Linked DNA regions of Homo sapiens: region 2 is linked to region 1. The links are contacts of gene promoters, found by promoter capture Hi-C in blood cells and fetal thymus (Javierre and others, 2016). All regions are on one chromosome and are shown on one strand. The core of a region is centred on a gene start or on the middle of the fragment in contact, and the rest is flanking DNA. Distances in the headings are between cores, read along the strand shown.

Evidence for each region. The method cuts DNA at HindIII sites, captures the fragments that hold promoters and counts their contacts. A CHiCAGO score of 5 or more calls a contact.
Region 2: a fragment that was not itself captured here is called in contact with the fragment with the promoter of LINC01151 in region 1 in 1 of 17 cell types (naive CD8 T cells); the score reaches 5.1 in naive CD8 T cells.

Annotation. Positions count from the first base shown.
Region 1 is chr8:122,690,720-122,696,154 of GRCh38, forward strand. LINC01151 (long intergenic non-protein coding RNA 1151) reads right to left here and starts at 3,387. Exons shown (of 4, transcript NR_126348.1): 1 at 3,162-3,387; 2 at 2,654-2,762. RefSeq lists enhancers at 1-53, 2,683-3,882, 3,703-4,203. The HindIII fragment of the contact is 4,977 bases long and covers 224-5,200 here.
Region 2 is chr8:123,219,684-123,225,118 of GRCh38, forward strand. It overlaps C8orf76 (chromosome 8 open reading frame 76), which reads right to left. Exons shown (of 6, transcript NM_032847.3): 6 at 284-614. The coding sequence ends at 420. Among named protein-coding and RNA genes, the nearest start is that of MIR4663, 6.5 kb to the left of the region's middle. The HindIII fragment of the contact is 3,745 bases long and covers 1,523-5,267 here.

The sequences.
Region 1 (5,435 bases), core at 2,137-4,636:
AGTGAGATGAAGATCATGATAGAAAGGATGGAGTGGGCCAAGGTCCCAGGTAAAGGGCCAACATGAGCAAAAGCATAGGACTGTAACAGAACACGATGTGGGCACCAACTTAGTGTCACTACAGCATCTAATGACAGGAAACGAATATTGTGAAGTGTCAGAGGCCTGGTCACAAAGGCCTCCAGGGCTGTCTACCGGAGCTTAAACTTGCAACATAAGCCAAAGCTTGCAAACTTGGAGGCTGGAGGCCAAATCCAACCTCCAGACATGTTCTGATTGGCAGGCACTTGGGGTTTGCATTCTGAGTATGAATGACTGGAGGCAGGGCATACTCCAGGGCTGAACACTTGGTCTCCCCCTTTCTATTATCTTACACCTGGACTGTTTCCCTCAGTTATGCCATCAGCCTGCTCCCTTAAGGCTTTTGAGTTCACGCTCCTGAATAGGCTCCGGAGAGCCATTGAAAGATCTTACACAGAGCAATGGCACTACCTGTTCTGTATCTCATATCATTCCTTCTGGCAGCATCGGGTTGGAGTTATGAGATTGGAAATAGGAAGACTGAGTAGAGGTATCTTTTTCAGGACTGTTGGTTGCAAGTGTCAGAAATCTTACTCAAACCTGCTTAAATTATTTAAAAAGATATGTTAGTTCCATAACTTTAGAGTCCAGGATAAGTTTAAGCCTCAAATATGGCTAGATCCAGGGGTAACATGATGACAATATGTCTCTCCATCCTGCTTTCCCATGTTTTGACTTTGTTCTCAGCCAGGCTCTCTGCTAATGGAGAACATGGTCCCTGGCAGCCCCAGACTACTGTGATCCTAAAAGTCAACTGTTGCCAAGAAAGAAGAATGTCTTTCCTGATAATTCTGACAAAAGTCCCAGGTTAAATGAGATGGCATGTGGAAGAATAAATAAATTAATAAATAAATAAATAAACAAAAGTCTCATGGAAGACTCTGATTGGCCTGGCTAGGTCATGTGACCATTCATAAGCTAAAACACAATGCTCATATAAGGAGAATGTATGGAACAGGACAAACAATCACCAGAGGATGGAACTCCAAGGATGTGAAAGGCTGAACAAAGGAAGAGAAATCTACGAAGAAAGGGTGGTCAGAGAATTAGGAATAGAATCAGAATCAAATGATATCCCAGACACAAGGAAAGAAATATTTAACACAAGTGGGCAACTCTTTCAAATTCAACTAAAGTATATTTCTTAAGTTTTTTATAAAAAACTGTGATGTATTGGATTGGTAAAATGTTAGAATTACTTTTGGTGGAGTTGTGGGCACTTGGGGCAGGTTGAGGAGTTGGCAATGGATTGAGGCATGCATAGAAAAAGTAGAAACAAAATTATAGATGACCTAAGAAATTTGGTTGAAAGAAACAGAAATAGAGAGGTTATAGAGAAAGAAACAGGATCAAGGTAAGATATTTTTGGTTGTAAAGTGTTTGAATTAGCAGGTGGGAAGGAAGCCTGAAAATAAAGAAAAGGGAGTTACTTTTTAATTTTTTTATTATTTATTTAATTTTTTAGAGACAGGGTCTTGCTCTGTCACCCAGGCTGGAGTGCAGTGATGCAATCAAAGCTCACTACAGCCCCAACTTCCCAGGCTCAAGCAATCCTCTACCTCAGCCTCTAAAGTAGCTGGGACCACAGGTGTGCACTACCACACCCAGCTAATTTTTTTTTTTAAGAGATGAGGTCTCACTATGTTGCCCAAGCTGGTCTCAAATTCCTGGGCTCAAGTGATCCTCCTGCCTCAGCCTCCCAAAGTGCTGGGACTACGTGAGCCACCACACTTGGTCAACTATTTAAAAAGAAAGATTGAATTACAAATAAATATAACTACTAGAAGCATCAAGTCAAGATACATGGCAGTTGAAAATTTCTGAGGATTGTCTAAATTCCCGTTTATGATGTCTTTCACCTTTATGGTGATGGAAGAAATAGGAAGCCCTGCTAGCATCTGCTACAGCTGTTCATTCATTCATTCATTGATTCACTCAACAAATGATTATGAAGCCACCACCTGGCCAGGCACCAGTCCAGGTGTTAGTGATCCAGCAGTGAACAAAATTGACAAAAACCTGCTTCCATGGGTAATAAATGCCCCCTGACACTCGATTCCTGGCTCTCCCACCTTCCTACAGACCTGATCCATGCACTTGGCTTCCAGCTCTTTCTGGGCCCTACAGGCAGATGTACCCAGGATACCAGGTGCCATCTCTGGCAGCTGAAAGTTTGGTTCTCTGGATTGTTCCAAACTTCATTGCTTTTGCAAGCTGCTTACTCACCACCCGACAAAGGGTGAATAGTGAATACAGTCACATCTTTCTACGCTCACCATCTTTCTTCCCTTTTAGAACCTAGAGGAGGATAGAAAATAACAAAATTTTCCCCACCTGAAGCTGCCAGTAGAATTCCCAAAATAAGATTAACTTCTCTAGATGACTCACCTAAAAATCTCGCCACACTTCTCTTGTGCTGCTGAGAAAACAACCAAAAGTAGCTATTATGCTGGAATGTAGGTGAAGATCAAAAGTGGACATCAAACTTGCCAGAAGCAGAGAGCAGGAAGACTTGAAAATAGAGATTCTGGACTCAGACTACCCAGGTTCCAATCCTGGTGTCCTCACTTACCAGCTTTCAACACCGAAAAGGAGACGCAGATGGAAATCCACCCTGCCCAAGAAGCAGCTTCCCACTGGAAAATGGTAATAAGAGTAATAATAGCAGGTGCATCAAATAGCTGTGAAAATGAGATGCAGTCATTCATTAAAGTGCTCAGCAAGGGGACCACGTGGGCGGAGGGCTGAGGTGAGGGTGCATTGCCATGTGGAAGTTGGGTACTACAGCCAGAATGCAAAAGGATAAATCCAGTGTTCACTAAATAATACTGATAAATTTTCTTACCTAATACACTCTCCTTCTGACCCACTCAGCCTGAACATAGAGAGGCAGGAAGGTAAGATTTCCCTGTCCACTTCAGAAACTGAGGTTAGTACAATTAGTTCTTCATTCTTCATGTCTGAGGCCCATTGGCTTCAAGAAAATCTATCTTTCTCTTAAAAACAACTCACTGTAACCATTAGGTCAAAATTACAGCTAAAGATCGAGTTTCTGCAAAATGTCAAATAAAATGTCTTACCATTTGTGACAAACAGCTGTTGCCTTCTTCTCCACGATGGAATCAAAGGATCTTATCACCTTAAAGGAAAACGACTAAAGCAGAATTATTTTCCTTTTAATCTTTTTTCCCCTCCATGGAAATTTACATAAGAAGGAGCTGTAATCCATTCCTTTCTGTGTGTCAGAAAATCTCCACTCTTGTGGTCTCCATGGCAGCAACTCCCAACCTGAGACAGAGGCTGTTTCACCCCACAGAGTGCATTGGACTTTTATCTGGTGAGTGCAATCAATGTAGACAAGCACATTGGATGACTCAAACTTGGGATTATTTCTGATTTTGAATTCCGTGTGTGTTTTGGCTCTCTGTGTTGGTCAACAGTGCCAGATGAATTCAAGTCTGCCTGTTACTTTATGTTGTGGTGAAATGGCCTGATAAGCCCCCTGGCGTTTTGAATGCTGGCTCTCGCTCTACACCGATGATGAAGCATTTTCCAGGTTTCTAAGGGGGTGATGCAACTGACTCACTTTCCGGGTCAGTGGGGACTTGCCCTCAAGCTGTTCTGGCAGCGGTGGGCCACTCTTTCTCAGCTTATCTTTTTGTGATGTCCTGAAACACACTCACCTGTGGCCACTGAATAGCGTTAAGCCCATGGTGGGTGAGCTATTGTGAAGCTGAATTAGCACACCCAAATGGGATTTAAACCCATGATCTGCCCTCGTGAGTGGGAACCGGTGGAGTGACCGTGTCCGACGCTCTCAAGGCTAGGTCAGGCTTTTCTGAAATGGCCATTTAAAGCCTCCATTTGTTTCATGCTGTGAAAGACTCTGTTTAGAGGGTGAAAAGACAACCTGCAGACTGGGAGAAAATATTTGCAAGCCAATATCTGACAAACATTTTGCATCTTCTAGAATATATAAAGAACTTTCAAAACTCAACAGTAAAAAAAAATTAAACATGGCTGAAAGACATGAACTGATATTTCACCAAAAAGGATAGGCAGATGGCAAATAAGCAAGAAAAGTTGTTCAATATCATTAGTCATTAGGAAACTGCAAATTAAAACCACAAAAATATATGCCTACACACCACTTAGAATAGCTAAAATTTTAAATAGTGATAATATCAAATGCTGGTAAGGATGCAGAGAAACTAGATCTCTTATACATTGCCTGTGGACATGTAAAATGGTACAGCCACCATGGAAAACAGTTTGGCAGTTTCTTACAAAATTAAACACTTACCATATGACCCAACGGTCATACTCCTGGCATTTATCCCAGAGAAATCAAAACTTATATTTACACAAAAACCTGCATATAAATATTCGTAGTGGCTGTATTCATAATGGCAAAATACTCGAGGGAAAAAAAAGCAAATGTCCAATAGGCAAAGGATGGAACAAACTGTGGTACCTCCATACAATGGAATACTACTTAGCAACAAAAGCAAATGAACTCTTGGTACATGCAACAACCTGGATGGACCTCAGGCATTATGCTTAGTGAAAAAAGCCAGTCTCAGAAGGTTACATACCTTTCGGATCTGTTTCCACTTATCCAACATTCTCGAAACGATGACAGAAAGAGCACAGATTAGTGGTTGCCAGGGAGCAGGAGGATGAGGGGGGAGGAATACAAACAGATAGAATGGAATTCTTTTTTTTTTTTTTTTTAAGACACAGTCTCACTCTGTCACCCATGCTGGAGTGTGGTGGCATAGTCTAGGCTCACTGCAACTTCTGCCTCCCCAGTTCAGGCAATTCTCCTACCTCAGTCTCTGGAGTAGCTGGGATTTACAGGTGTGTGCCACCACACCTGGCTAATTTTTGTATTTTTAGTAGAGACGGGGTCTCACCATGTTAGCCAAGCTGGTCTCAAACTCCTGACCTCAAATGGTCCACCCACCTCGGCCTCCCAAAGTGCTGGGATTTTAGGCATGAGCCACCGCGCCCGGCCTGAATGGAATTCTTTTACTGTGATGGAACAGTTCTGTATCTTGATTGGGATGGTGGTTACATGAATCTATACATGGGATAACATTACATACACACAAATGCAAGCTTAAAAAATGCTGAGAACAGAATAAAATCTGCAGTATAGTTCAACACTACCAGTGCCAACTCCCTGGTTTTGCTATTTTACCACAGCTTTATAAGATGTCACTGCTCGGGGAGGCTGAGGGGAGGGTATATGTGACCCTGTACTTATGGCCTCTTTCTGTGAGTCTATAACTATTTAAAAATAAAAAGTTACAGCCGGACGCAGTGGCTCACGCCTGTAATCCCAGCACTTT
Region 2 (5,435 bases), core at 2,145-4,644, 530 kb after region 1:
GACCCTTCACAATGCTTGGCACACCCTTCTTAGAAATAGCTTAGTTTCACATCTCAACATTCTTGGTCATTCCCAATGAATTTACCTAACCAATGTGGATTCTTATGCTGCTGGCTATAATATAGTAACTGTTTTTAAAAGACCACAAATCTAAAAGCCTCCTTGATACACTTCCCCAACAGATTATCTTCCAAAGGCATAATAGTCCTAAGATACAGTACTTGTAACGGGATAGGAGAAATCCAAATAAAGAAAACAAAACATAAACTGAATGCAGTAGAAATCATTTGAGACAGAAGCCAGTTTTATAAAACATAAATAATCATTTATACTCCATGATTAGCAATGGATCCTGTCTGAAGTAAACAAGGACAATTAATACAGTACAAGATATTTGTGGTTTTGTTTTTTATAACCCACTAAGCCAAGATTTGTATCTCTGTATGGAACTGATTTTCAAATGGACAGAAATGGTCTTTGATCTTTCTGAACCACTTGTCTTCAAATTCTTCTGAGGATACAGTCACCAAGGCAGTCAGGGCTACGGAGCCAACACACTTCACCTCTGGGTGAACTTCATCTTTTATTTTTTCTGGGATATCTTCTCCCATAACCTATAACAGGAGGAAAAAAAAAAACTGTCCCAATAAAAGAGGCAGAGACATGGAATGCTAGTTATCAACTGCGAAGGCTTTCATTCAAAGGCAGAAAATACTTGAGCAGCCAGGGGACATTCCCAACACATTGAAAAGATGTTTGTTCAGAAGTAGTTATCCGTCTATGGCCATACCACCCTGACTGTGCCCGATCTTATCTGATCTCAGAAGTAGTTATCCAAGGACAAATAAAATATCCCATATTTCTACCCTCATTCTCCCCAAGTGAAAGAATCACTTTGGTGCTGCTGCAGCAGCAGTACTATTTGGCTTACCAGGAGTACTGAGTTACCCTTTTTGTTTCAAAGAGCATATTCTGTTGGTGAGAATGCAACTGTAGCATGTAGCTGGGCCCACCTTTTCCTGACCCAAAAGGACTCTAATCCCTCTATAACCAAAGCAATCTTGGGGATTTAAGGAGCCCGTTACCAATGAAGGTACAATACTGCTCCCTACTGGTCAGAATCAGGCCCAGATGAACACAGGGTCATGTCCCAAGATTCTGGGTTAGTTTCTTTGAGAAGACATCACAAAGTTAGGTTGTAGAAAGCTTGTACCTGAACCCACTAAGTAAGCAGACTGACCTTGGGTAATGACAATGAACTAAAATTAAGTTCCAAAACATTTCATACCATCTGTCACGAAAGCTTATGTAGTCATGGAGCAGGGATGTTGTAGAGGGAATTTAAGTTCCACATAGATTTGCATTAGATAATCTCCAAGGTTCCTGCAAACCCGGATATTGAATGTGTTCATGAAAACTCAAATTATAATGAATTAGAAGCAGGCTCAAATAATGGTTTTGCGGACTGGGTTTAAATCTTCAAAGATTACATATTGTTTGAGGAAATTGCCAGTGAGAGCCAAGCTTCACTAGGCAACAGTCAGTATTTACTAAAGCCTGGTATTTCACCAGTTCTAAGATACTTTTTTGTTTTTGTATTTTAACATCTCTAAAATCAAGATGTATCTGAGCCAGGTGTGGTGGTTCACATCTGTAACACCAACACTTCGGAAGGCCGAGGCAGGATGGTCGCTTAAGGCCAGGAGTTAGAGAACGGCCAGGGCAACAGAGCAAGATCCCCGTCCCTACAAAAAAAAGTATCATTTTTTTGAGTCAGAGTCTCGCTCTGTAGCCCAGGATGGAGTACAGTGGTGCGATCTTGGCTCACTGTGACCTCTGTCTCCTGGGTTCAAGCAATTCTCCCACCTCAGCCTCCAAAGTAGCTGGGACTACAGGCAAGTGCCACCATGCCCAGCTAATTTTTGTATTTTTAGTAGAAACAGGGTTTCATCATGTTGGCCAGGCTGGTCTTGAGTTCCTGACCTCAACTGATCCACCCGCCTTTGCCTCCCAAAGTGCTGGGATTATAGATGTGAATGAACCACTGTGCCCGGCCAAAAAATTGTTTAAAAATCAGCCGGGTATGGCAGCACTCAACTATAGTCCCAGCAACTACTTGGGAGGCGGAGGTGGGAAGATGCCGTGAGCCCAGGAGTTGGAGGCTGCAGTGAGCTATGACTGTGCCACTGCACTTCAGCCTGGGAGATAGAGTGAGACCCCACCTCCAAAAAAAATTTTAAAAAATGTATTTGATAACCACTGGAGTGAGGCTCTATGTGATAGTGTAAATGGCATCTTATTTTTCTTTTTTTTGGGGGGCGGGGGGTCAGAGTCTCACTCTGTCGCCCAGACTGGAGTGCAGTGGTGCAATCTTGGCTCACTGCAACCTCTGCCTCCTGGATCGAAGCTATTCTCCTGCCTCAGCCTCCCAAGTAGCTGGGATTACAGGCGTGCGCCACCAGGCCTGGCTAATTTTTGTATTTTTAGTAGAGACAGGGTTTCACCGTGTTACCCAGGATGGTCTTGATCTGACCTCGTGATCCACCCGCTTCGGCCTCCCAAAGTGCTGGGATTACGGGCGTGCGCCACCGCGCCCGGCAGGCATCTTATTTTTCTTTTAGTGACACATCAAATGATATGTCTTAAAACTGATGATTTCCTGGATTCAGTGAAATGTAGTATTTTAAAATCTGGGATAAAACACCAAAAATGCCTTTCTTAAAAAAAGATAAATGAATAATAGTAAGACCCAAACAACACACTATTCCCAAAAGAGGGACAGATAGGCACAATATTTACAGGTGTCAAAAATCTGCCAAAACATTCAGCCACATAAACATTTTAAACTTCCATATGCCAAAAAAAATCATAAACTTCAGAAAATATAGTAACTATAGAAAGATACTTAAGTCTAATATAGGGAGAACTCTTAAAATTGCTATGAAAAACAGAAAGAATAATGAAGCAAAAGCAAGACTAGGCATTTGACATGATACAAATGGCCAATAACACATGAAAAAATTGTTCATCTTAATAGTAAATAAACATTAATGCTAAAAACATTACATTTTTATCTACCAAGCTACCAATTTTTAAAGTAATATTATTAAGTTAAATTATATAAAACAGAGGTCAAAATGATTGATTTCACATGGTTCAATCTAATAGTCAGGATCAGGGTAGAAAAAACAATGCTTTCACATATTGCTAGAGGATATATAAATTGAACTAACCTTTCTAAATGATAATTTGGAAATGTGCTTTAAGTCTTTAAAAATGCTCATATATTTAAATCCAGCGATTCTATTTCTAATAATCTGTTCCAAAAGGTACAAAGGCACATATTGATTTTCTTGCAAGGATTTATTAAAATAGGTACTGAGTATTTGTTAAATGTTCAACACAGGGAACTAAGTAAATTATAGTTTGTCCAAAAATTGACTATCCAGTCATTAAAAATTATGTACTCAAATAATATTTAGGATATAGGGTCATGCCCATGTCATAATGTTAGGTAAATATCAGAACATAGAAAATAAAATGTACAGTTTGGTAGTTCCTAAAAAAGTTAAACAGAGCTAATATATGACCCAGTAATTCTACTCCTAGGTATATACCCAAAAGAATTAAAAACAGAGACTTAGCCGGGTGCAGTGGCTCATGCCTGTAATCCCAGCACTTTGGGAGGCCGAGGCAGGCAGATCACTTGAGATCAGGAGTTCGAGACCAGCCTGGCCAATATGGTGAAAGCCCTTCTCTACTAAAAACATAAAAATTAGCTGGGCATGGTGGCACACGCCTGTAGTCCCACCTACTTGGGAGGCTGAGACAGGAGAATTGCTTGAACCTGGAAGGCAGAGGCTGCAGTGAGCCGAGATAGTGCCACTGTACTCCTGCCTGGGTGACAGAGCAAGACTCCGTCTCAAACAAAAAAAACAAACAAAAAAGGAGACTTAAACATACTTATATGCTAATGTTCATAGCAGCATTATTCACAATATCCAAAAGGTAGAAACAACTCAAGTATCCATCAAAAGATGAGTAGATAAACAAAATGAGATATGTACATATATATGAATATTATTTAGCCATAGAAGGTATGAAGTTTTGATAAATGCTAAATATGGATAAACCTTGAAAACATTATGCTAAGTGAAATAAAGCAGACACAAAAGGACACATATGGCATGATTCCACTTATTTGAAATATCTAGAATAGATAAATTCACAGAGAAAAATAGTAGATTAGAGGTTCTAGTGGGTAGAGAGAGAAGAAAATAGGGAGTTATTGCTTAATGGGTAGAGTTTCTGTTTGGGGTGATGAAAAAATTTTGGAAATAATGGTCATGGCGGCACAACACTGTATACGTACTTAATACCATTGAATTGTACATTTAACAATGATTAAGATGGCAAATTTAAGTTACATATTTTATCAGAGTAAAAAAGAAAGAGGGAGAAGAGCAGTTGTTATAGAATAAAAAAGACATGAGACAAAAGGGCCACATATAGTATTTAGACCTTATTTGGATCCTAATTCAAATAAAAGAATTACAAACAGGAAAAAAAAGCATGTGATCATAGAATATTTAAGGATACAGGGCTATGTTATTACAAGTCAACTAAAATTAAAAGCACAAAATAAAGGCCAGGCATGGTGGCTCACATCTATAATCCTAGCACTTAGGGAGGCCAAGGCGGGACGATCATTTGAGGCCAGGAGTTTGGGACCAGACTGGGCAACATAGCAAGACCCTGCCTCTACAAAAAATTTTAAAATTAGCTGGACATGGTGGTGGGTGCCTGTAATCCTACGAACTTGGGAGGCTGAGGTGAAAGGACCACTTGAGCCTAGGAATTTCAGGCTGCAGTGAGCTAAGATTATGCACTGCAGCCTAGCCTGAGTAACAGAATGAGACCTTTTAAAAAATAAAAATAAGCACAAAACAAAATGTACATTATAATCCTAATTACAATCCTAACGAGGGCCCAGACATTTTCCATCTTTTTAAAAAGCTCCACTGGTATATCACATGCATTGTCTACACAGGAAACTACTCTTCCACCCAACCAACAGATTTATCGAGCATGGTGAAGAATACAAAGATGCTCAAAACATACTATTACTTATAAGGAACCTAGTATCTAGTTGAAAACATAAGATACATTCTTATGTCTTCTTAGGGCCCAAAGAGCTATCTATTCAAGCAATCACTATCTGAGCTCAGAGGAAGGAGAAATGACCACAGAGCAGAATATTCCGGAAAAGCTTCCTGGAGGATGTGGAACTTGGGAGAATTAAAAGACTGATCAGAAGTGTTTTTTTGTGTTTTGTTTTTTGAGATGGAGTCTCCCTCTGTTGCCCAGGCTGTAGTGCAGTGACACAATCTCGGCTCACTGCAACCTCCACCTCCCGGGTTCAAGCAATTCTCCCG